Linked DNA regions of Homo sapiens: all the other regions are linked to region 1. Evidence: promoter capture Hi-C in 16 types of primary human blood cells and fetal thymus (Javierre and others, 2016). All regions are on one chromosome and are shown on one strand. Each heading gives the region's core, a stretch centred on a gene start or on the middle of the fragment in contact. The rest is flanking DNA. Distances are from core to core; before and after follow the strand shown.

The links. The method cuts DNA at HindIII sites, captures the fragments that hold promoters and counts their contacts. A CHiCAGO score of 5 or more calls a contact.
Region 2: a fragment that was not itself captured here is called in contact with the fragment with the promoter of HSPA13 in region 1 in 4 of 17 cell types (fetal thymus, total CD8 T cells, M2 macrophages and 1 more); the score reaches 6.8 in fetal thymus.
Region 3: a contact is called between a fragment that was not itself captured here and the fragment with the promoter of HSPA13 in region 1, in 5 of 17 cell types (M2 macrophages, endothelial precursors, M1 macrophages and 2 more). The highest score is 7.4, in M2 macrophages.
Region 4: a fragment that was not itself captured here is called in contact with the fragment with the promoter of HSPA13 in region 1 in 2 of 17 cell types (total B cells and fetal thymus); the score reaches 6.0 in total B cells.
Region 5: a contact is called between a fragment that was not itself captured here and the fragment with the promoter of HSPA13 in region 1, in 4 of 17 cell types (naive CD8 T cells, non-activated CD4 T cells, total B cells and 1 more). The highest score is 7.6, in naive CD8 T cells.
Region 6: a fragment that was not itself captured here is called in contact with the fragment with the promoter of HSPA13 in region 1 in 2 of 17 cell types (M2 macrophages and M1 macrophages); the score reaches 6.6 in M2 macrophages.
Region 7: a contact is called between a fragment that was not itself captured here and the fragment with the promoter of HSPA13 in region 1, in 9 of 17 cell types (M0 macrophages, M2 macrophages, naive B cells and 6 more). The highest score is 10.9, in M0 macrophages.

What each region holds. Positions count from the first base shown.
Region 1 is chr21:14,381,765-14,384,737 of GRCh38, reverse strand. It overlaps HSPA13 (heat shock protein family A (Hsp70) member 13), which reads left to right and starts at 1,592. Exons shown (of 5, transcript NM_006948.5): 1 at 1,592-1,643. The coding sequence starts at 1,619. It overlaps LOC105369304 (a long non-coding RNA gene), which reads right to left and starts at 1,972. Exons shown (of 2, transcript XR_007067924.1): 1 at 1-1,972. RefSeq lists enhancers at 1,056-1,185, 1,576-1,885. The HindIII fragment of the contact is 7,322 bases long and covers 1-2,495 here.
Region 2 is chr21:15,557,076-15,559,775 of GRCh38, reverse strand. The region is part of intron 2 of LOC105369302 (a long non-coding RNA gene); the gene reads left to right. Among named protein-coding and RNA genes, the nearest start is that of USP25, 170 kb to the left of the region's middle. The HindIII fragment of the contact is 841 bases long and covers 958-1,798 here.
Region 3 is chr21:15,601,915-15,604,831 of GRCh38, reverse strand. The region is part of intron 1 of LOC105369302 (a long non-coding RNA gene); the gene reads left to right. Among named protein-coding and RNA genes, the nearest start is that of USP25, 130 kb to the left of the region's middle. The HindIII fragment of the contact is 2,435 bases long and covers 146-2,580 here.
Region 4 is chr21:15,532,098-15,534,797 of GRCh38, reverse strand. All of the region lies in intron 2 of LOC105369302 (a long non-coding RNA gene), which reads left to right. Among named protein-coding and RNA genes, the nearest start is that of USP25, 200 kb to the left of the region's middle. The HindIII fragment of the contact is 2,146 bases long and covers 182-2,327 here.
Region 5 is chr21:15,738,554-15,741,579 of GRCh38, reverse strand. The region is part of intron 1 of USP25 (ubiquitin specific peptidase 25); the gene reads right to left. Among named protein-coding and RNA genes, the nearest start is that of USP25, 10 kb to the right of the region's middle. The HindIII fragment of the contact is 1,076 bases long and covers 1,071-2,146 here.
Region 6 is chr21:15,668,826-15,671,773 of GRCh38, reverse strand. No RefSeq gene overlaps it. Among named protein-coding and RNA genes, the nearest start is that of USP25, 60 kb to the left of the region's middle. The HindIII fragment of the contact is 1,710 bases long and covers 722-2,431 here.
Region 7 is chr21:15,583,798-15,586,800 of GRCh38, reverse strand. All of the region lies in intron 1 of LOC105369302 (a long non-coding RNA gene), which reads left to right. Among named protein-coding and RNA genes, the nearest start is that of USP25, 140 kb to the left of the region's middle. The HindIII fragment of the contact is 1,505 bases long and covers 623-2,127 here.

The DNA.
Region 1 (2,973 bases), core at 343-2,842:
TACTCTGAGATCACATAATCTTTACCTGCTTCTTGAACAAATCAGGATCTTGTTAGCAAGGAGAAAGGAGTGAGTGGCAGGGAGAATCCCAATGACCAGTGCTTGTCACAGACGGCTAATCTTAATCTGGTTTAAGTCTCTAGTTCTGTCTCTCAGAATTCTACCTCATGCTTTATGATCCACCACTTTCTAATCTATGGAATAGATGATCTCTTGCTTCTGTGCTCTTGGTAATTGAGTTCCGTCTGCCTGGAACACCTCCAGCCCACTGCCCATTACAAGTAATACTTAAGAACTAAGTGCTTGAATTCTTCACTCCTTATAAGAATCTTATTGAACAGCACTCACTATAGACACACACTTTTTATATTTCGCATTATGAAATACTTAAAAATGCGCAAAAGTAGAGAGAACATTACAATGGATCCCTATCAACCAGAATTCAGCTTCCATAATCAAAATTCACATTGATAAGTCAGAAATAACCAGCAATGTATTCCCACAGCAGGCTGACGTGTTGTCAACAGGGATGGTTTGATTTATATCTAAGCTGAGAAAATGGATTCAATTCTCCAGGATCTTAGTTATCGTGAACTCTAACAGCAAAAATGACAAAACCACTCTCAGAGGAGTCATTAAGTGCTACCAGTGACCAAGATGCGAGAAAAATCCTACTTCAGACTAGAACCTGAACAGCATGTCACAAGCGTCCTAAAATGGCTGTCACGTTACAGGACTTGCCCATAAGGTCAATTTTGGCCACTTAAGACTTACTTGAAGAGAGAGCTAAGGGTTTTCTTTTTAATTTCGTTTTTGTTTTTGTTTTTAATGGCCCACGTCAGTGCTAGCAATAGAGAAAATGTGTCCCTGATCCCTTGGATAAATCGAATTGACTGAAGAATGCTTGAATTCATTTATCCCAAAACAAAGGCAGACGGCTGAGGGTCACTGGAGTTTCAGGGCTGCTCCCAGCGTTGGAGCACGGACGCCAGAGCCGACTTCCCTCAGGCCCCGCACTGCGGCAGGGACCCTTCTACGGAGGATGGCTGGGGCTCCGGGAGGCTATAGGAACGCCATCTAGAAGCTAGATCTCAGGCAAACGAACGCGCTTTAAAAGGAATTAAAACGAAAGAACACAAACTCGAATCCTGGACCTGATTAGGGGCACGACCAAAGAAAGAAATAACTAACGGTTCTCACCCTCCCTTTCATTCCCTCCCGCGGAAAGAGAAAGGCTGGAACTCCGCTTCCCAGAATGCAAAGCGCGGGGCGGGGCTAAAGAGATAGCCTGTTTTCCCTCAAGTAGGATCGCGGGACCACAGGTTTGATTATAAACGCCAGTCTCTCGCCACGGCGCTCCTCCCCCTCAGTCTCACTGGTCCTGCCGGCCGTTGCGTGGAAGGGGGACTCAGTCGTCACTGGCAGCGGTTGAATGGAGGCTCTTTGCCCCGCGCCCTCACGGTAGATGAAGTCCTTGCTTTGGTCAGAGCGATAGCTTCTCCGATTGCCTCAGAGCAAGCGGACTACATTTCCCAGGGGGCTGCGGGACTGCCGGGAGGAGTGGGGGCGGTGCCTCACGTCTGGTACAGTCATCACAAGCCTGTTCGGCGGGACTGTGATGGCCAGAGAGATGACGATCTTAGGTGGGTTCCCGGGGGTCCTTGTTGCTCTTGCGGGCGTAGAGGCGATCTGAGGATGCCAGAGTGGGCAGGGGTGGTTGACTCACCTCCTGGATCTAGCTGGAGCAGCGGAAGGGGAGTCAGAAAGGTGACTTAGAGACGGTTTTCGGCTGTTCGGAGTGGATGGGGGCGGGGACGCCTCTAGGAGGGCCCCGGCCCCTGCAGGCCAAGGTAGGATAGACGGCGACCAGCTGTGTCCATCCCAGGGACATCAGGCTTAGGGAGGCGTTCCTTTCAACAGCACCTAGGTTTTTGAATTGCCTGTTGAATTGGGGCAAGCTATGGAAGGCTGCGAGAACGTGCACCTCCAGGACCCCTTTGTGGAGGAAGGGGGAGGAGCTACATCCGGATCTGTCGGCTCAGGGATGCTGAATTTGGAGGCTTTTTCCATCACATCGGGTTTGGAATTACCTATCCCCCACCCACACACACACCCACCCCGCGTCTCCAAGGTGATGAAATGCTTCTGAAATGTTGCCTGTAGCTGGAAGTGGAAAGTGGGATTCGCACTTGGTTTTATTTCTTTGAGTTATGTGTTGATGAGGATGAGCTAACAATTAGTAACACAGAGCCCTGAAAATTCATGTTTTGGGTCATATGTAATATGAGCGGACACAGGTGTATAACACAGCCTCCTGATACCAAATACGAGATTCATTAAAAACTAAAGGGGCATCTTTCTTCGCTTATGTTTACAATCTGCGTGGCATTTGTTCCTACTCTTTTTTCTTTTTTTTTTAAATTAGTATTTGTTGGGCATCTGCTATTCCTGGTCTGGGGGATACAACAGTGAACGAAACTTGTCTTCAAGAAGCTTTCATAGATGTTGCCGTCAGGGTTGCCCACCTTTATGCTTCTTCTCCCCTAAATATTACCACTGCAAGAAGGAAGTCCCTAGTTCATACTTAAATACATAAAAAGTTAACTGTGTTCTGTTTTGAAGTGACAGTTTCATATCTAAGGAACTTTCAAAATCATTTTATCCCATTTATTCATTTCATCCTTTTGAAAGGGAAAAGGAGGTGAGATACGAGGAGAGAATTTTAGACTTATAAAATAATAAAGTTTTTCTTGTGAGAATTTTAATAATGGAGCTTTTAAAAAAAGATAATCGAAGCTTTTTATAAAGCTGTAAAATCTAAATATCAATTGATCAAGAATATTAGATTATATCTGGCTTTTGCTCCAGATAAATGTTGTTTCTTGTCAGCATCTGCACAAATATTATTGAAATATTTTTACATTTTATTACATTTATTAGAGAATGACACAAACATACAGTTATAGGGTTTTT
Region 2 (2,700 bases), core at 129-2,628, 1.2 Mb before region 1:
TAGTGGACCTGAGCAAATCTTCCAACTATTAGTTTTATTTTTTAAGGCTGCTGTTTCACTTCTACTTCTCAGTTTTTGCAAATGTCATTTGTGGCCCATACTAACTTGGAATTATGCAGTGAAGGGAAGTCTGAAAACTGTGGTTACACCTTAGCTAAGTTGACATGATATAAATCCACCACAGGTACTCAATATTATTTGTTAAATAAATAAATGATGCTGATATTAGTGACCTTATCATAGTATCATGATCCTTCTCCTAGAATGGAAAGAGCCCTTCGGACCCATTTAACCTCTAGTAACTTCTCAAGGAGCTTTATGTGTGAGTTTTGTCCTGCAGATTTTGAGGGTATTAAAATTTTACTGTGAGTGTGAAAGGAAAATACGGGACCCCCAAATCACTAAGCCAAACAGAAAAGTCAAGCTGGGAATCACATCAGGCAAACCTACCTCCCATTTTATTCCTAAATAAGATAGCTACAAAAATACAAAGTATATACCTCCCTCACAATTTGCCCACTAGGAAATTCCTTGTGGACTTCAAGATCTTCACCCTATGACAGTTCTGTTGAATTTTACTCTGACAGTGAAATAGACAGCTTATCTTTACAGGTGCAGGACAAAGGACAGAACTCTAAGTCATCCCTCTGATCACTTGAGACAAACACATATCTGATTGTTTCCTCTGATGTAAAAATGCTGATTCAGTGAGCCAGATGACAGCATAAGTGTCTATTCCTCCACACCACCGACATGTAAATTGTGTATTCAGTGAAAGGCTGATCAAAGATTCAAAAGAATGCAACCATTTGTCTACCCACACCTTTTGAAAATTTCTTTCTCTTTCCCAAATACCCACTCTTTCACCTTTAAACATTGAAGCCCTCAAAACCATCTTTGGAGAAAGGCACAGACCTGCCTTTCAGGCGTGCATCCTTAACCTTGGCAAAATAAGCTTTCTAAATTGATTGAGAGCTGTCTGAGATACTTTTTGGTTTCCATGAGGTTGGCATGTTATTACTAAAACAATAGACATGAATCAGATATATTAGACATAATGCTATAAAAAGAAGCCTGAATCATGAGAATTGGCTATAACTTTGCTTTATAATTTACCAAATTACAGAGGATTGGTAAAGGAGATTACCAAGTAGTGATCATTATTGCTTCATATTTACCCTCAAACTAATATAATTACAGATGTAGGTGAGGAAAAAATCGTTTTCTCTATCCATCTTAGATTCTTCAGCTGGGGCTCTATAAATTAGACTGTCCAAAAACAGATTAACAAGAGAAAAACAAACAATAGTTTATTAGTGAAGTGGCATCCTTGTCTGGGGTAAATACCCGGGGTTCATCATTTTGCACTAAGAAGATTAAGAACATGGACACATGTGGGTGGGTTAAGGAGCAAAAAGTTTAATAGGCAGAAGAAAGAAGAGAGGACAGCAGCTATCTGAAGTGAGGTGTCTGAAAGGGAAAAGCCAGCCTGCAGCAGATCACAGCAGATTTTATAGGCAGGCATGAGGAGGCAGTGTCTGATTTACATAGGGCCACAGATTGGTTCTACCAGGTGTGACGTTTACATAGCGAGGGGTGGGGCCAGGGAAGGCTGGTTGCACCACCCTAATCTTATTATGCAAATGGACTTTCCACTTGGCCAGCGTCATCTTGTCTGCTTCTTACTGTACATGTGGCTGGCAAAGTGAAGGGAAGATGGAGCCGCCATTTTGATTATGCCTAGTCATAGGTAGCCTTTTCCTACTGACACAACTGCTAACATTCACCCATGCAAGCTTCCAGCTTGCATATGTATGTCTGCAGCTTGATTTTACAGGCTGCTCTTTGTTAGAAAAGAAAATGATTTGGGGGCTGCTTTTTATTAAAAGGAAAACCTTCCTTAGCCTCACTATCTGCCTAAATAATTTCTTTTTAACTCCTATATCATTAACACATGTGTTGTGCTTACACACGCGAGTACCCAGAGATGAGTGACCTACGGGGGTGGTTAGAATTTAGGATTATATACCATCTTAGACTAAAGAAAAAGGGTTTCATGTTGTGGGTGGAAGGAGGCAAGTTATGGGAAGGTGACAAGAGAAAAGAATGGCAAACAAGGGTTGTTTATTAAGATTTGTTTGCAGATTTAAATTGGTGCTTTCTCCATTGATAAGAGTTAAGAGTTGTTAAGAGTCCTCCTCTTCCTGGTATGAGGGAGACACCTCTATAAATGGAGACTTCCCCAGTAAAAGGAAAATCTGTGCTTTATTTTTAGAGCTTTTCCTGCTGCTGGTTTTTAATGGCTTTTAGCTCAAAATAATCCATAATCCAAAGAGGCATATTTTAGGGTGGCATACTCTGGTATTCCTCAGAGATTACCTGGCTTGTGAATTAGCCAATTTTGTTTCTTCATTGTCTATTTATCTCTTCCATTTACTGATTGCCATTTTATTCATTCATGTAGAATGAATGTAGAATTCACGTAGAATGAATGTACATGAATGATTTCATGTAGAGTTTCTGAAACACATAATATACTGTGACATTAAGAGATTTTGTTCTGTAGATTTTCCAGGGACCAACAGTTTGAAGTAGAACAAGAAACACCGTTGCTGTTGATTGCTTATATTGAAGGACAATATATGTTTCATCACAGCAGCTCACAAAAATGATTTATTGCCATAGTATCTAAACAACGCT
Region 3 (2,917 bases), core at 114-2,613, 1.2 Mb before region 1:
GTGAGAAAACCTCATTCTCCAAATGTCAAAACCAAGTAAACAAAGGTGCTTTAGTTACTTACACACTTACTAAACATAACACATAAACTGAAGCCCAGAGTTCAAAATTTTCCCACCCTTCATGAGGGCGTATATGACAGAAGCTTAGCAAAATGTCATCACTCAGTTTCTGGAATTAAAACAACTGAGCTGTTTGCCACACCCCACAGCTTGGCATGTAGTCAGGAATTCAGGAATGTCAGCCTCCACTCAAATTAAGATGATGCAAAACAATTGCATTAGATGGTGAGGAGGTCTGCCCTCTTCCTACTCAAAATGCCTGGGAAGCAGGAAATACAAGTTCAATTAAAACGGCCTTTCTGGAGCAGAAAAGTAATTGTCTCATGCCAGAGACAAGTGAATAAATATTATTGATGATTCTACAATCAAAGGAGACTTGGCTTTTGTTATTGTGACAGTCATTTGGCTGCCGCCTTGCAAATCAACACAAGTTAATAGATTGACGATGACTGAACAATTACAATGAAAAAAAACTTGCTTTTGATCCTTACTAGGGGGAAAAAAGAAGCCAAGACATGTTCAAGGTGGCAGCAGTTCAGAGTTCTCTAAGAGGCAAATACAAGTTATCTACATTAGAGGGCATTTTAGTCAATGGTGAAGATTATGCTGAGTATAAGGATAGCAACATCTAAGGATAAGGAACCTCAGTACCCACTTGTATTTTGAGCTGGCGTGGTGTCCTATTTGCAGGTAATTTCCCACCGTGATGATTCCTTTTGGAAGGCAGTATCTTATTTCCCACTGCAAAGGGCAAAGAGGATAAGGAACAGCCTGGCGGCCAAGCAGTTACGATGATTTAGTTCTCTCAACTGGATTTTCCACACATGGTTTGGAATCTTTACTTCGTGGTGCATACAAGAACGATAGCAATTCATTCTCAACAGCAGTGCCCACATCTGGGCCAGATGAGATGCTAAGAGATGCTGCTTCAGACAAGCCTTCTATTAATATAGTGAGCTCTTGATATCCTTAAAGTATACGTATTTAAGCTATCCACAGTATGTTTCTGTTACTTATTGCAAAACAACCTCTTAATTGATACAGAAAGCAAAGCAGATAGACACAAACTAAATATCCCTGGGAAAATATGGAGAAAATGGGATTGGTTGTCTGGTCTGAATGCATCTAGTTGAAGTTCCCTAATATTTTGGTTTTGGAATTCAGTAATCCATGACAAAGAGTTGTGAAAACTGCTAATTAAGTCATCCTGTGTACTGCTAATTATGTCATCCTGTGTGCCCTTGGGAACAAAGTTTGGGAGACAGCATTGTTGCCACCAAAGTATGGTAGCAAAAATGGAAGACCTGTATGGTGGCATGACTCTAGTAGAATTAGATGGTGTAAAGGGAGGGAATTTTAAACCCAAATATCTAAATTCAAGAACCAGAAATCAGATCTATAGGTGGTTTTCGCCCACCTTCCATGAAGCATCTCCTACCTTCAAAAGCAGATTTCTTTTTCTTGTCTGAGAGTTCTTTCTCCATTGCTTGAGGATTATTTTGTTGCCGCCTCACCATAGTGATTTCCTTAAAGAAACAGTCCATTACCCACACGTCTCTCTTATCCCTACTTTGTCCACACCTGTCACTAGAGTTTGGTGTCAGTATAGCAAAGGGAATAAACTACAAATTAAAAACTTGCAAGTTTGGTTGATGTCATATACATAAAAAGAGTCAAAGACTTGCTAATTTAAGTTGGAAAAAATCTGGAGGGTGTGTGTAAGAACAGATTTTAGGGTGCTCATAGAAGGGCGAAACATTTTTAGATCACTAATACCAGTTGCTAAGATAAAATTCTCCTGCCATACTGTGAACACTGGTACTTATATAACTTCGTTAAAACCTTCCCAAGTGTGTTTTGAAGAAACTAATACAGTTAATCATCATCTCCAAGTGACTATATAAAGACATTTGAAAAATTATAAGTTTAATGTATTATGCAATTTTGGATATTTTATCAACTGTTCTTTTTTTGTTTCCTCTATCTCCTTCCCTTAGCTGCCTACACTTTTTTCTTTTCCATGACAACTATTTGTGATATAGTCAGTCTGATTAGATTATGAGAAAAGATTAAGAAATTCTTAAATGTACCTTTTAGAATTTTCCATTTGATTGTCTAAAACTGAACTCTTTTCTCCTACTTACAAGAAGCTGAGAATGAAAATGTCAAAATTAGTCTTCATATACTCATCAAACACTTATCTTCTAGACTTTTCCATTACTAACTCACTTTTCTTTTGTAACAAATTATTTTTGTTTCTTCCCAACTAGTTGTTGCCCTGAGCAATGGCCGTAACACTCATGCCTTTCGTAAATTGCCCTTAATCATAATTCTCTGGCAACTGTTTTATAAAAATCAGTAGTATTTTTTCCTATAGATGTAAATAATAGTTGTTTAAATAGTTTTGTGTCAATAGTTGCTTTCATGAAAGGAAAAAAAAATTGGCCTAAAATACACAAAGGGCCACAAGATGACATAACTATATTGGTTTTATTTACTCAGGGAGGAAAAGAATAAGCTTTCATGCTCTTTTAAGGATTAGAATGAAAGCAAAAGTAGGGTGAAACTATGGGAAGAAACCTCAGAGGGTCAAAAGAACATAACCTCCTGGAAAGTATTAAAACAGCTATACATAATAAATGGGTTATAAGTGGCTACTATCCATTTGGTTTTAAACAAAATGCAAAGGCAATATTAAAAATACTACTCTACATGTATGTTAGATGCATTCAGATATTTACATGGAATGTTACAAATAACCATTGGAAACTTATTCCTTCCTTGGAAGGTGTAAGAATTAGTCAGGGTTCTCCAGGGAAACACACACACACACACACACACACACACACACACACAC
Region 4 (2,700 bases), core at 5-2,504, 1.2 Mb before region 1:
TAGGACTGGAGGAGAAAGAAGGAACCTGGTCTTTCTTATTTACTCCTTGTTGACTTCCTGTCCGTTTGCAGTTCCTGTAAGCATCATTTTGGCAGCGCTTCTTCACCCAGGCAGGAGTAGTAATTCTGTATGCAGTAGCTGAATTCAGTTAACAGTTTTTTAAACACTTGTGAAACAAGCTTCACTGTGTCACAGTTAACAATCACCAGCATCTGCTAACAGTATCCTGTTTTCTACAGTCTGGGTCTCAGCCCCTTGGGACCGCTCTTCCAAGCTCAAAGACACCAGAATCTGTTGAGCAACTGAACCAGTAGCCCTCCTCAAAGCCCTGAGTTTCAGTTATGCAAGACCCCTCCTCTAAGTTTCTAAATTTTAATAAATCCAATCATGTCCCTTAGTTTTTTTAACCATAAGGATGGTATCTGCTTCCTACATTTGCTGCCTCCATGATACATTAGCGTCCTCTTTTTATCTTTTCAGTTCCTAGTTCACAACTTCATACCTGGTTGACAATTATTTACATTACATTCTCCCTGTTCAAAATCTCGTATGTTTTCCATCCTCTCACCTGACCCTGATGGAGACAATGGTCGTAGACGAACTGTGGGAGTTTTGTATTAAGTGTATGATAGTAGAAACCAAGTTTTGTGTTTTTAGAGAACAAATGTTAATTCACAGCTACTATATATATATATATATATATCTCCCTAGAAGGATTCTACGAGACAGAGAGGATGAAGAAAACCAAGGAGTGAGGCTCATTCATTAAGTGTGATTGAATAAAATGTGTCCATAGAGCATTGCCTTCACCACAGAGAGACTCCAGAAACCTCTTTGCATGTTTTTTTTCTTCAATGTCATAAATTCACATCTCCACAGCAGTAGCAGGATGGATTTTCTTGATGTAATCTGCCTAATAATGGGTTGTTTGTAGAGCCAAGGTGTTTCAGTGACCTGGGGTTATTCTGGAAGCTGCAATTACCTGCAGAGAATAACCGCTGAAATTCCTACGTGGAGAAATCCAGGGAAATGTCACAGAGGTGCATCTTTGAAATGGCCATGTTCGTACACTATGGTTGAGGGCAGGATTTCACGATTTACAGCAGTGAGATAAAATTCCTATGTACAGTGACTGTGGTCTTAACAGCTTCTTTACTTTTGATATTCATTTTCTATAAAGTTTTATGGTTTTAAAATTTCAAGTTAACCATTAAAGCTCAACTATGTTAAATAATCATTAAGAATCAAGCTCATAGCTCTTCTGAAAATCAAAGTGATTGGAGAACTACCTTTTTAACTGTGTTCTAGTGAAACAAGCTAATTGACCTGCTTATAGACACAATTTCTTTTGTGCAATTAGCTCAAGGTTGTATCCATTCACCTGGAATCCTCTAGAAGTAAGCCCTATTAGACTTCTTCAGTTATTGATGATTTTGGATGTAATTTCATCTGCTTTTGAAAAAAGGTTACTAAACATTTCAGATATATTCTTCCTGTCTTACAAAAGTAGACACAGTGCAGCATCGAATGTATTTATGTCTGTGATACATACTAATTTTCCATAAAGCTATGTTTGGGGGTTTTATGTAGATTATCTTATCAATTGCAAATAATGACAATTTTGTTTTCTTCCCTACCATTTTCCACTTACTTCTTCAGCTCTATTGCTTCCAATGCAATGTTGTATAGAAATGGTGAGAAGGAGCATACTTATCTCACACCTGATTTTATGGGGAATAATTTTAAAATTTCACTACTGAGTATGTTGTTTACTGCACTCTTTTGATAAATCGCCTATATATCTATTAGAATTCAGTTCAGGAAACAAAAATCACTCTAGATGTTACAAGGAGGGAAGAATATAACAGGCACTTGAAAGGTCATTGGAAGAGCTGGAGGAGAGCATTTTGGGGATAAGGGGTGATGCTGAAATTTCATTTCACAGTCACCTACCTCAGGTGTCATCATAGGTCATATAAGCAAATTTGCTGCCACTGTCACAGTTGCCTCATACCACAAATATAGTACCCAAAACAGAGAATAATGAATGAACATATGTTACTAGTTCTTATTTGTTAGTAACTTTTGCCAAAGGAAGATGCCTCTGCTCTTTTATTAGTCAGCATCCAGAACAACCACAGAAATTACTTTAACACACGTGATTCCATACAAATATTTTAAAAGTAAGTGGTTGTTAATGTAACTCAGAAGAGGAAAAAAATATAAAAAACCATTAAGTTGTGGAAATAGCAATCGCAGGCAGCAGTGACCACTCCTAGCCTTAGTGAACAAAGAGAAGAAGTTAGAATCACTAAAATTCAAAAGCTTTGTTGAAGAAACTTGTGGAGGTGAAACTGACATTTCAGTAGATGAAGCTGGTTGGCTGGTGATCAGTTTCTTTGAGGAGGATTTAGTTAGGCCATTTCTACACATTTTGGGGGAAAAAAATCCAGCTAGATTGAACTGCAGCTAAGGAAAGGAAGTGCCTCCCCTATGGTATAGGAAAGAGTCTTGTAGCAGGTCTGATGTTCCTCTTCGAAGGGCTTGCTAATCCTTGGCTGGTGTCTGAAAACTTGACTTTGGAATTTTCCTTTTGTTACTAAAGAATCCGGCTGTCTTGTATGCCTCAGGCACTGAGTCCTCCTTGCCTATACTGTGCAAACAGTGTGATTGATGGTAAATACCTGCTTTCCTCCTAGG
Region 5 (3,026 bases), core at 359-2,858, 1.4 Mb before region 1:
GGGAAATATACAATTACTACCACAATGAGGTACACCACATATTCACCAAATGGCTAAAACATAAAAGATTAAAAATGCCAGGTGTTGGCAAAAATGTAGACCACCTGAAATTCTCCTATATTGCTAATGAGAATGTACAATGATACAATCAATTTGGATAACAATTTAGTACTATAACAATTCTACACCTATGTATTTGCCCAAGAGAAATAGAAATACGTCTCAAAGACCTGCTTACAAATGTACACATAACATTATATATGGGTCAAAAAACTGGAAAAAAAAAAAAAAGTACATCAAAAGGTACATGAATACACAGATGTGAGAATATTTATATAATATTACTCCATAGTAAAAAGAAACATATTGATACATGCAATAAAACATGGGTGAATCTCAAAAGCTTTTTGCTGAGCAAAAGCAGTCAGATGCGAGAAAAAAAAAAAATTTGGTATAAACAAATCGATGTGAAGACCCAGAACAGCCAAAACTGATCTACAGTAATAAAAATCAGATCAACAGTTGCCTGAAATAATGACGGTGTTGATAATTAATGAGAAAGGTGATACAGGACAAATTTTGTGGAGTGACAGAAATGTTCTGTATGGCCAAATTCATCAAATTACACACTTTCAGTGTAAATCATACCACGATAACATTAACTTGAAAAAAGTCAAGATAGCAGTAGTGTGGGGGTGGGGGGTGGTGTAGAAAAGAGGGACAGTATGAATGAGGAACAAAGGAAATTTCCAGGACAATAAGATATTCTATTTCATGTCTAAAATTGTACAAAGAATACTAATCTTAATATATTTAAGTTGTACATAAGTTTTCATATGCTATGGTTAGCCCCCACAAAAAAATCCTATAGGAATTATTCATACACAAATACACACGCACATACCAAAAAAAAAAAAAAAAAAAAAAAAAAAAAAAAACAGCCAGAAAGAAACAGGAAGATTACAACTTTAGCATGTACAATCACTTTCCAACTCCTTAATCCATCGATTCAACTTATTTGTGCCTCCAGGAGTAAGAGGGGCAAGTATCCCACCTAGCCACCTGAAGCTTTGGGTTTCCATAGAGATGTTGGCCAGAAAAGCCTGAGGGAGGAGACAGCTCCTCTACAAGGAAACATGTTGCTGCACTGATGGAGAGAAACACCTGAAACAAAAAAAAACAATGTCCGTTCAAAGACCCTGCTTCCATATTAAATTTGGTGTATTGTGATAATTCAATCCCTAAAGGACCCCTGCAGTCAATTTACACAGTGCTCAAGGCACTTTTACCTTTAAGAATACTAATTAACTTCAACCAGTGATCCTCAAACATTAAGTGCAGAAGAATAATCTGCGATTCTTATTAAGCAGGCTTTAGCCCAACCCTCAACATCTTGAAACAATACGTCTAGGGTGAGGCACAGAAGTCTGCACTTTTAGCAAGCACTACAGATAATTAAGACAGTCCATAAAAACCATATTATACGAAACTGATCTAAACCTATAGTAACAAGACTAAGGAAAATATTGCTGGGCATTTAAAATATCCAGCAGTTCAGAGAACCAAAAACTAAAAATAAAGCAGATGGTCTGTACTGAAGCAGAGTTAATCAAGGGGCAAAAAAGAGAAAAACTGAAAAATTACTTACTACATACATAAAACAAGATGTCATGACAAGGATGATGTCCTTGGAAATTAATTAAAGTCTGCCAAAATAAATGCAAGGCCTCATCCTTTTATAAATTCAACTTTCACATCATCTACTTGCTCACATTATATAGTGACATTCCTAAACTCACTTTCACAAGCCAAATTTGGTCCTTCAAACATAACAAAAATCAGTGATTATATTGTAGGAAAAAGGCAGGCCACTGCTGCAGGTCAGTGCTTAAAGCAATTCTATGACATTAGAGAGTAAAATTATGCCAGTGTCAGGGGAAGAAAGACCCTGTAGACACCTTACTCTAAGCACATCAGGGCAGAAATCAATTGTGGAGTGGCCCCTGGAGAAGGAAATTAGTGAGGGCCACTAATACAAAAAAAAAGTGCCCTGCCTGACTTCACAGTTCCTAGGATGACAGAGAAGAGACTGACAAACTACCAGCACCCCTCCACCACCACACCCAGGATACCTAGGGTGAAAGCTTAAACAAAGGTCACCAGTACCCAAAGAAAAAATACCTGCAAGCATCACGACTGAAAATACTACAATATCTTTTAGTTAAACAGAACCTACTTTGTAAATCTGCACAACTAACACATGTAAATATTTCAGAAATGCATGAGGTACAAAAGTAGGTAACTGCCTTTTTAGATCAGCAAGAACAAAAAAATACTCATTGTTATCACTTCTAATCAATATTTATTGGAAGTATTTGCTAGTACAGGAAAAAAAATGAAAGTACAGGCACAAAAACTGAAATTATACATAAAACTTTTTAATCATGATGTAGCAGGACGAGCCGCAGACAAAACTCCTCAGAACCGAGTTAAAGGAGGAAGGGGTTTATTCGGCTGGGGGCATCAGCAAGACTCCTGTCTCAAGAGCCGAGCTCCCGGGGTGAGCAATTCCTGTCCCTTTTAAGGGCTCACAACTCTAAGAGGGTGCGTGTGAGAGGGTCATGATCAAATGAGCAAGCAGGGGGTATGTGACTGGGGGCTGCATGCACCGGTAATTAGATCTGAACAAAACAGTATCGGGATTTTCACAGTGTCTGTGCAATGTCTGTAATCTATAGATAACATAACTGATTAGGTCAGGGGTCGATCTTTAACTACCAGGCCCAGGGTGTGGCCCTGGGCTGTCTGCTTGTGGATTTCATTTCTGCCTTTTAGTTTTTACTTTTTCTTTCTTTGAGGGCAGAAATTGGGCATAAGACAATATGAGGCGTGGTCTCCTCCCTTAATGATATGATCTTTTACACAGAAAGTACAAAATTGTCTCTGGAAAAGGTATTAGAAACATTTAGCAAGGTGGCTAGGTATAAAATTAACATACAAAAGACCACTGCATTTGCATACACCAA
Region 6 (2,948 bases), core at 327-2,826, 1.3 Mb before region 1:
GCAAAGATAATTAATTTTGAGACATTTGCTGAGAATGCTAAGACACATACACTCTCCTCTATGGTGCAAATGTATTCTGGGAAGTGTGTGTTCCAGAGATGTTTGTAGTCATCATGATATTACAAAAAGTCATCTTTAGAATGAAACCAGCTCTGCAGAAAACATTCTGGAAAGACAAAGAAACTGTATCCTTGGTGATATGCTTGCACAGGTAGCTCAAGCACCGTTCAAACAAGGCCTAACTTTGGGTTTTGCAGTTATATAAGCCAATACAATACTCTCATTTTTAAGCTACTTTGAGTTGTACTTTCTGTGATTTGCAAGCCAGGCATTATAGCTGACCTAAGTACCGATATTAGAAACATCCTTCCCATGTTACATTTCTTCTTATTGGGTAGTTGTGGCTGTGATCTCGGCTGACTGCAACTGGGGCTTTCCATTTCTAGTTACTCTTTCTTATTTCAGAGTACTATTTCCATTTTAGATGTGACAGAGTTTTGTCTTGGCTCTTAGACCATTTGTTTTCTTATTACTATTGTATTTAGATTTCTTCTTAGAGTTCTCAGAAATAATTCTGCATTACTTATACTTTTACCCTTTACAATTTCAATCATATAAAAATATTTAGGAAGGCATTAATTTCTTATAAACAATTTTTTGCACTTTTTAAAGTCAAAATAGTTGGAGTTGTTTAATACAGCAATGTGTAAAATTCAAAGCTTAACTTCAAAAAGATTTACTAAGCATTGGCATATAAACATAATTCCTATAGTTATTTACCTACTTGTTACTTGCCGCTATTTGTTGATAAATTCTTAGGTATGATTTTACCACAATCACTACATTCAACAGTAGATTAGCTGAAGTAATCACATAAAAACCATACCCAGCTGAACTTAAGAAGGCATATCTAACCGTTTGACATATGTAGAATAAGACATATATAAAACATCCTAAGAATCGCAAATTTTAATACCAATACTCTTTAAAAACTCATGGCTGTTTTAACCATTTGCCGTTTACTGATAAATTTTGATACACAGTCGACATGAGATTTTATTATTATCTAAATTTATAGTGGCAGTAGCTGTATGCTGACCGAACATTCAATGAAATATTCCACTATTTCACACATTATTACCCTTGATTAATATGGCAGCCAAACTCAGAATTTTTGTGAAAAACAACAGAATTTGTTTTGACATTATTTTCATATGAATCAAAATTTCTGGTAAAGAAACCATAACAAGTCAATGTTAAAATGCTAAATGATTGAAGTGCAGTAAAATATATATGCAAGACCGGGCATGGTGGCTCATGCCTGCAATCCCAGAACTTTGGGAGGCCGAGGTGGGCAGATCACCTGAGGTCAGGAGTTCGAGACCAGCCTGGGCACATGGCAAAACCCCGTCTCTACTAAAAGTACAAAACTTAGCCAGGCGTGGTGGCATGCGCCTGTAATCCCAGCTACTTGGTAGCTGAGGCACGAGAACCACTTGAACCCAGGAGGCGGAGGTTGTAGTGAGCCAAGATTGTGCCACTGCACTCCAGCCTGGGTGACAGGGCGAGACTCCATCTCAAAAAGAAAAACAAAAAATAAATAAATAAAAAAAAAACGTATACAGCAAGAGATGCAAAGTCATGTGCCATTGTGAATAAGCAAGTCCTTTTCAATATTAGGCAGAACATCAGGCTGTTAGAGACCAAGAGTGGTGGGATTGGTAATATCATCCACAGGGTTAATATTCAGGTAGTATACACAAATTAGGAAAAGGCAGGGCTAATATTCGGGTAGTATACACAAGGTTTCGTCTGTGCCAGTTGTTAAAGAGTGAAGTACATGTTAACACCTTGTTCATCTCAGCCCCTTCCCTGTATCAGCAGACCTCTAGAGCCCTTTTCCCAACAGTCTGGTCTGTGCTCATTTTAATAGGTCATTGTTTATGCCATACCAGTTGTAAAATATTTTTGTATCATCTCTGGATCAAAGTGTTAATAGCATTTTTAGGTTAGTATACTTTATACTATTTTTTCCAACAAAATGTTCTCACTGTTAGTAAGCACATAACAATGCAACTTCAGGATCGTAATTGATTTAGTTGATTTCTTGTATTTTTGACAGTTCCTCTGTATTACTGATATACACCTCTGAAAGGTGTGGGGAGGTAGGTGTCAAGCACCGTCCTCAAACCCTTACCCTCAACAATGCTAACCTAATTCCCTATAATCAGGAGTAGTGGGAGGTGCCCCAAAGCATTTTAACACCCATCTCACAAACAGATTGCAGTTGGGCAATCCTGCCCTTTATATAAACAGTTACTGATTCTTACTTTGGAAAGAGCTTGGCTGCGTTTGAGATAACATCACCAGCTTCTCAGTTCACAGCAGGAACTCCTCCTACTCCTTTGGTCTGACAGGGACAGCAGAAGCTTCAATTCTTCTACCACTTCTCATAATCCACAAAAACCTGTCAAAATCCACTCTCTTCTCCCATCTCACCACTCCCTGATCATATCCCACTAGCCACTTTGGTGTTTTTTTGTTTTTTTTTTTTTTGAGATGGAGTTTCGCTCTTGTTGCCCAGGCTGGAATGCAATGGCAATGGCATGATCTCGGCACAACACAACCTCCGCCTCCCGGGTTCAAGCGATTCTCCTGCCTCAGCCTCCCGAGTAGCTGGGATTACAGGCATGCGCTACTACGCCCAGCTAATTTTGTGTTTTTAGTAGAGACAAGGTTTCTCAGTGTTGGTCAGGCTGGTCTTGAACTCCTGACCTCAGGTGATCCACCCGCCTCAGTCTCCCAAAGTGCTGGGATTACAGGCGTGAGCCACTGCACCCAGCTGCCACTTTGGGTTTTTAAGATAGGACAATTTAAATAAATGAGAAAAAAATGAGGGAAAAGTTAAGGAAGATGTACTTAGTGACTGTTAACCAAAATTAAATTCT
Region 7 (3,003 bases), core at 126-2,625, 1.2 Mb before region 1:
GAGACTTCTTTCTTGAAATTTAGATTGTTACATCTTTTTCCCCTTTGTGCTCTAGTTGCAGTCAAGACAATTTTCTTTTGTCCTGTGATGGTATTTTCTGCATACTATTGATCTGAGGCAAATAGTATCTGAGAAAAGAGAGTTTTCTTAGGCTATCGTGCCTTTCATCAAACAAGATAAATCATCAAATGAGCAAATTTGAGGTCTGTCTGGTTGTTATTCTTCACACAGTTTTGCCATGTGGATAGACATTGAGAGAACATGTACTCCACTGGTCTTTAGAGAATTAACAACAATATATTCTCGAGTAAATGTAGGCAAACTTGCCTTCCTGGTATTAGTGAGGCTCCTGGTAAACATTACTGAATAAGACACAGTCATTATCCTTAGGGAGCTCACAATTTAGCACTTGTTTATTGAACTACTGAAACAATTTATAGAACTGAGTTGTTAGTCAAGAAAATGAAAAAGGAGCTACAAACCAGTGTTCACAGAGAAGCAGATTTCCTGCTTTTAAAAAGCAATTCCATATACAAACGTTTGCTGCAATGTAATAAACAAGACTATTGGAAGAGAAAGAAGTAATTTAACTCTTTTTTTTTTCTAGTGGTCTAATCAAGCTTCCACCTAAAAAGAAAGTGTAAACTTTCACCCTTTACAGGAATTTAATTTTCGCTTAAGCTATCCGTGTTGCTTCTTTTTCCTCTTGGATCATACATTACCTCAACTCCAAGTTTAGATAGACAGGCTATTAGAAATCTGAATAGAATGATTTCCTTCGTTCCTTCCTTCCTTCCTTCTTTCCTTCATTCCTTCCTTCCTTCTTATCTTCTTTAATTGTTTTTAATGATTATTAAGGCCTGAAAAAGTCAGAAATGAATTAACACATACCACCTGATTTTATGTATGGTGAGAGAAAAGGAGTGTGTTAAATGTTTCAAGAGAGTATTTACAAAGAGCAATGGGAATACAAAAGAGAAAGAGAGTAGATTGAAATTTGAGTGATTTGTAAACTGGGAACAAAAGCAGATCTTTTTTTTTTTTTTTTTTTTTTTTTTTTGAGACGGAGTCTTGCTGTGTTGCCCAGGCTGGAGTGCAGTGGCACGATCTCGGCTCACTGCAAGCTCTGCCTCCAGGGTACATGCCATTCTCCTGCCTCAGCCTCCCGAGTAGCTGGGACTACAGGCGCCTGCCACCATGCCCGGCTAATTTTTTGTATTTTTAGAAGAGATGGGGTTTCACTATGTTAGCCAGGATGGTCTCAATCTCCTGACCTCATGATCTGCCCGCCTCAGCCTCCCAAAGTGCTGGGATTACAGGTGTGAGCCACTGTGCCCAGGCAAAAGCAGGTCATTTAACTCCAAAACTTTTGCTTCTAGACTTTTGTTATAGGTATGTCTTCCTTTTTTGAGACTCTGTTAGTGGTAGTAATGAGGAGATTAAGTATTAGGTTGGTGCAAACGTTGGCACCAACCTAATAAATTCAACTTTCTACTCACATGTGAGGTGATGTGTTAGGAATATCAAGAGGGAAACCTTTGAAGAGGGAGTAATGTCTGGGGTAAGCATTGAATGTCTGTAGGATTTAGCTCACTGAAGACAAATATCAAGGAATTTTCAAGTAGAGATAACATCATGAGCAAAAAAAAGAGAAAAATATGAAAAGATACAGGTCATTTGGAGAAATAATCCTTTGCTTAACAGGATGGGACATTTTAAACAAATAAAATAAGAGTGAAACCACAAAGTAAGTTTCTCCTGAAAGGAAAAAGGGTGGAGGATGGAGTGAGGGCCGCACAAGTTAAAGAGATGATAATGTGTTTGCATGAGGGAGATCTGATCCTACCTGATGCTTATAAAACAAATTACTGTGAAAAAATTTGCTATTACTAAAACGATCAGAAATACTTGGATGAAAAACAAATGGTTGGAAAATCTAGTGTCATTATAAAATTTACAGTGGTACCACACACACGGCCTGGCAAAATGTGCATACTGTTTAGACTATTCCATCAGAAACACTTCTTCAAAAGTTCCTATACTTTCTGAGATGGGCGGAGTTTGGTATGGTAGGCAGGGAGTGATAAACTGAGGTGAGATTGGAAAATCAGGTTGGGCTCAAAAGCTTTGAAATCCATTCTCAGAAGTTCTAACTTTCTCCAAAAAGCAGACAAATGGCATGATTAATCAGTATTCTAGAAAGAACTTTCAGGCTGAGGTATGGATTGGACAGGGGAGGAGATTGTTAGCAATAAGGTCTATTGGTAGGTTATAGATATACCTGTGAAAAGTGTTGAAGGACTGAATGGTGCTGTTTATAGAGCACCCTTGACATCTGTAACTCCATCTTAGAAAAAGACTCATCTTATGTTTCAGAATGCATCATACCAACAGGCATCATACCAACAGCGATCAGATGTTCGCCTAATCAATAGAGACAGCAATCAATCAGATAAGGACATAACCAGGCACACTCTTTACTATCAATTCAGTCCTCACCAGAAGACTCCGGGGCCATAAGAATAGCAAGACTTCACCAGCTCAAGACGGCCATCTTGATAGACACGGTTATGCTGTCACTTGTGATTAGCACCTGGCATCTGAGGCTGAAGGCTCTGCCCAAATAAAAGACTCTTCAGTGGAAGTCATTGACATCCATCAGGATCAGGCCAGGACACTCTCCTTGTCCATGTCACTCTCCTTGCACTGGTTCATTTGACCCCATTTTCCTAATCCTTTTCGTCTTGATGTTAATTGTTTGTCTGATATGGAATATTTAATCTATAACATTTATATATTAATTATACTACAATGTGTGATTTGCAATATTGACTGACTTGTGGCTTGAGCCCGTGTGCCCATGGCGCTAACTACTGAGTGAACAGGTAGTGCTAAGGAGAATTGCTTCCTTGGGAACTCCATGTAGCCGTGACTTTTGCAATTGAAATAACACCAAGGAAAATCTGACCTTGTGGAAAGATACAAACATGCACAGACTTGGTT